Linked DNA regions of Homo sapiens: region 1 is linked to region 2. The links are contacts of gene promoters, found by promoter capture Hi-C in human tissues and cell types (Jung and others, 2019). All regions are on one chromosome and are shown on one strand. Each heading gives the region's core, a stretch centred on a gene start or on the middle of the fragment in contact. The rest is flanking DNA. Distances are from core to core; before and after follow the strand shown. Region 1 has its middle 14 kb from the start of OR52J3. Region 2 holds the start of OR51L1 (olfactory receptor family 51 subfamily L member 1).

Region 1 (2,700 bases), core at 99-2,598, 37 kb after region 2:
TGGTTACCCTACCTCCATTAACTAACCTTTGAGCCAGATGGCCCTCTGGGTGGGAGGTCAGCCAGGGAAACTGCCCCCCTGGTGGTATTTACTTCAGACCACCTTAGCTGAGCTTTAATCATTCCTAGAACTACTCTCTTAACCATGTTAATTATCCACAAGTGTGTTGACTCAGAGCTTCTGTTGTTAATTGTATACTAAATAAATGTCTGGAGTGCAAGCTTCTCAAGGCCAGCCGCAGTGACAAACCTCTCTTGGTGTGCAGGTGGTCGGACATTCAGCAGGACTGGCATAACAGATTATCTGTGTGTCAATGTACATTTTATTCATCCATCGTTTGGGTCAGGGTCTGCAGGCAGACCCCTGCAGCTAATGCCCTCTTGTGAGGAGCAATTCCTCAGATATATACCTAATAATGCAATTACTTGGTAAATTGTATTTTCAAATTAATTTCTACATTGTTTTTAAGAATATTAAAATTGAATGTGTTTTTGAATATTACTCAGAATTTTTTAAAAATACAAATATTTTGAATATCTTATATACACAATCATATAAGTAAATAGAGACTTTTACTTTATTCTTTCAAATTCTCATCTTTTTTTCTATAATTTTTCTTACTGTATTATACTCTTTTGGGCATATAGTGCAGTTCTGAATAGAAGTATTTATAAGACATCTTTGACTTTACCTGACCTTATAGGAGAAATATTGAATATGTTTTCATTAATATAATTTTAGCTGTATTATTTTTATGTGTATCTGTAAAATTAGGGTAGTTACATCTGTTTCTAGTTTACTCAGAAATCTTACAAAATAGTAGTGGTGGAGGGAATGGAAATGGTTAATGGGTACAATAATATAGTTAGAATGAATAAGATCTACTATTTCATAGCACAAGATGATTACAGTCAACAATTATTTATTATACACTTAAAAGTAAATAAAAGAATTGGAATGTTTGTAACACAAATAAATGATAATGCTTGAGGTGATGCATACTCCATTTACCACACTGTGATTATTATGCATTGTATGCCTGTATCCAAATATACATAAAAATATACACCTATGATGTACCAAAAATTAAAAGTAAAATGTTAGTATAAAAATTTTATTAAAAGGATAAAAATGTTTAAATTTTATATATTAAGGTGATCATCTTTTTCTATCTTTGGCAGTGTGAAGAAGTATATCTATAATTTTTTAAAACAAATTATGTACTAGAATAGCCTTCATTTGTTTGCAATGTGTTATTCTCTTGATACAACATTGTATTCTATTTGATAATTTTTAAGGGTATTTATATCTGTGCTTATAAAACACGTTAGTCTTTAATTACCTTTCCTCAGAATATAATTGACTGGTTCAGTTATCACTCATGAAACCAGTTGGGAAATACTCTATACTCTCAAAGACTTTGGACTCTACTGGTATTAGCTCCTTTGTAAATGTTGAGATAAAATCACAAATGAAACTCTTTCAGATTGAAGACTTTTTGAGTGACTTTTTAAAAATTATGGATTAAATATTTAGAGGAACAATGATCCAATTTTGTCTTTCTTGTTTAAATTCTGAGGGTATATTTAGAAACAACATGTCATTTAAACTATGATATCTAGTGTAATGCAAAAATATTCTGCATTGTATTCACTGCATGATTTAAATATGTTTAAATGTGTGTGAGATCTGTAGTAATGGCTCCCACTTCCATTAACAGTATGAACTGTGTTTTCTCTGTTTTCTCATGATCATTTCTGTTAAAAATTTTATGTATTTATTAAACTATTTAAAGAACAAACTTTCCACATTGTTGATTTTCTCCATTTTATTTGACTTTTATTGATTTTAAAGAAAATGTGGTATATGCATAGAATATTATTTAAACTTAAAAATGGAAATTCTGCTATTTGCAATAACATGAGGGTATTACACTAAGTGAAATAATCCATTTATAGAAGGACAAATGTGGCATGATTCTACTTTAAATGAAGTTTTTATACTAGTGAAACTCAGAAGTGAATAAGACAATAATGGTTTCCAGAAGTTAAGGGGCTGGAGAAAATGGGAAGTTGTTGTTTAGTGAGTACAAAGTTGAAGTTATGATAGATGAATAATTTTAGTGCCTGTAGTAAACAATATAGTAGTGTGAAGTTCAAAATTTGTTGAGGGCAGACCACATGTTAAGTGTTCTCACCACAAAATAAAACAACAACAACAATTACCAAAAAAAAAAAAATAAATAAAAAAAAGAGATCCAAGTAAGGTTACTTTGTGAGGTAATGAGGGTTTAGGACTCTAACATATACATTTTCAGGGGCTACAATTCAACTGATAATAATGACTAGACCCAAAATATTAATCATGGTTGAGGGCAAAGCACTTTTTAGTCATATAAAGTTTTGAAACTATACTTCCCATTTATCATACTTTGGGAATTTACTTAAAGATTTGTTCCAGAAAAATTGCAAGGCTATCTGTAAAATAGGAAGATAGGAGGTTTGAGGAACAGGGGCTCCAAAACCAAAGAGAAATAAAAGATATTCTCAGCAAGACACCTAAGTGCAACCATTTCAGAGCAGAACTACAGAACTGGTGCCACTGTGAGGGATGTGTCCAAGAAAAAAAATTAAATCTGTGTCTGTTGGGATACTTTATATTACATATTTTTGAAAAGATAATATAGACCTTCAAAGGAAA
Region 2 (2,700 bases), core at 3-2,502:
CATCTATTTTTGACAAAATCCCTTATCACATGAACAATAGAAGATGACAACATTCTCGGATAAAAGCAGGTACAAAAAATCTTAGCAAACATACTTAATGGTAAAATGTTGTTAACCACACCTGTGATATCTGCAAAAAGAAAAGAAAACAATTTTTATCCCTTCTCCCCAAAATGCACTGGAGATCTTATCCAATGCAACAAAGCAATAAATATAGAAAACGATAATGAAGATTTTAAATAAGAGAAAAAGAAGCTGACATTACTTGTGGAGGTGTGATTTGGTGCAAAATAAGGCCTTAGAGAATACAGATCACTTATTAAAAATAAAAAATAAGTTCAGCTTTTCTGAAAAAAGAAAAATTAACTTTATTTTTATGTAACAGTCCCAAATATTTAGAAAAAATTAATCATGCTACTTACGTTAGCACAATTGAATGCCAAATATGTGAGAATAAACCTAGTGTAAAATATGTAATCTCCAAACAGACAAGTATAAAATAATATTGAGAAAAAATAAAGACCTTAATTAATTGAAGTTCCTGTTCTTGGATTAGTTATCTTACATTCTAAACATGTAAATTCTCCCCAAATCGATCTACAGATTCAATACATTCTCAATAGTAGTCTCAATGTATATCTTGGTAGAAATGGATAACCTGTTTCTAAAATTTATTAATAAATGCAAAGAGGTAGGATAGCCAATATGCAAAGAAAAAAAATGTGTTGGGAGATGATGCTTCTTACCAAGCACTGAGGAAGCAGCAATGAACTGGATAGTAGCGTTTGCCTTTAAAGTGCTTAGTGTGCCTTCTTGAACCCTGTTGCTTAATAAATGCTTATGAAGCACATGACTAATAAATAACTCTGTTTAGTGAAATGTGGTAAACATCTTATAATGGAAAGACTTATCATTGCACTTTCTCATCATTGTTCTGTACAATGCCCCTAGTTAAAGCCGAAATTTCAGTATTCTTCTGGATCACAGTAGTTATCATAAATTTACTTTCTTACACTCATTTGAGAAAACTATTAGAGAACTAAGAATGGTGGATGAAAACAGGGATGCATTTCTACTATTTTCAGTATTATGATCATATGCTCTTGCCATACCTGTGGTTAAGGGCTTTTTATGGCCATTTCATCTCTGGGGATCCAACAGACTCTGACACCAATCCCTAATTTTCTTTGCCAGGAGACACCAGGAGTATTTATAGAGATGGTGGAAGCCTTCAAGCCTCACCACTCACAGAGTCGAAGGTTTTCAAAACCTGAGGTTCATAGAGACTTAAAATTGTAGCATCTTTAATCAGTACAGGTTTGATTTTCAGGTAGAGATGGGAAGTTTTCTCAGGTGAGAGATAAGCCCGTAAGAGCAGCAACTTAAACCACAGACACACAAAGAGAAATTAGAAGAAAGAAACAGCCAATCAAAGGGACCGGAAAAAATAGAGGATTACATGCTGAAAAGACACAAACTTAGATAAAAACAAAATATAAAAAAATGGCAGCAGGAAGGAGGCTAGAAAAGATAGTAAAGATAATTTGACACATAAAATGAGATAAAGAGAGAAAAAGCCACAGACATAGGAACAGAAAGAAAATATGACTTTAACTATAGTGAAGAAAAGTTTAGTCAGAGAAAGACAAAATGGAACTGTGGATCATTTGAGAAATGGGCTACTGATTGCAAATTAACTAGGCATATTGATTCAATTGCCTTATATTTAAATTTCAGGTAAGTGTGAATTTTTAAATTATAAATAGTTGGTAGATTTTAGCACATTTTGTATGTGGATATAGTTTGCTAAAGAGAGTAAAATTATGAGAAAGATGATGTACCATTTATGCAAAAGGAAAAAGAATTATTCTCATCTGTGAAAAAAATTAAATTTATTACAGTATTGTAATGTCTTGTTCCAATTATTTTCAGCGATTTTAAGATAAGCGATAAGCTGATTAGCAGAGAATAGGTTTTGATACTAGAGAGGCTGTAAAAAAATGGTCTTATGTTCAGTAGTTCTCCCTTAATTACCTGGAATAGGTGAATGTGTGACATAAGCCTATTCATGCCTCTGCCCTTTGAAACAGTCTTGTTATTACTCCCAGTTCTTTTCTATTATTTCTCTTTCGACCTCAGTGTGATTAAGTTGTACTAAAATCAACAAAGAACCACAAAGAATCATTGTCAGTGACCCAGAAATAGAGTCAAAAGAAAATGAATAGAGAAAAGACAATAAATGGATTTTAAAAAGTGAAAGACATGACAGATATGGCAGTGAGAGGATAAGAAAGGGAAAGTACACACAGAAATAGAAACGGGAAAGGGGCTTAGGGGGCCCGGGTAGTGGAGGAAATGCGGAAAAGTAGCTCAAAGCATACAAACTTGCAGTTATGTAGGAAGAATAAGTCTAGAGATCTAATATACAGCATGACCACAGTTCATAATATTGTAGAATGGGAACTCTTTTCAGGTGAGGGATAAATCAATGAGATAAAGCAGTGAGTTAATAATATTGTAGAAATGGGGACTCTTTTTAAGTGAGGGATAAACCAATATGAGCAAGAATTAAAACCACAGAAATTGTATACCGAAAATTTGCCAAGAGAGTAGAGCTTAGGTGTTCTTAGCATACACATGCACGTGTGTGCATGCACACACACACACACAGGCACATAGTAATGACCATTTCACTATGTA

What was found. The method cuts DNA at HindIII sites, captures the fragments that hold promoters and counts their contacts. A contact is called where the count stands out against the background at its distance.
Region 1: a contact is called between a fragment that was not itself captured here and the fragment with the promoter of OR51L1 in region 2, in 1 of the 25 tissues and cell types used here (ovary).

What each region holds. Positions count from the first base shown.
Region 1 is chr11:5,030,759-5,033,458 of GRCh38, forward strand. No RefSeq gene overlaps it. Among named protein-coding and RNA genes, the nearest start is that of OR52J3, 14 kb to the right of the region's middle. The HindIII fragment of the contact is 7,888 bases long and covers 1-2,700 here.
Region 2 is chr11:4,993,599-4,996,298 of GRCh38, forward strand. OR51L1 (olfactory receptor family 51 subfamily L member 1) reads left to right here and starts at 1,253. Exons shown (of 3, transcript NM_001004755.2): 1 at 1,253-1,737. The HindIII fragment of the contact is 11,490 bases long and covers 511-2,700 here.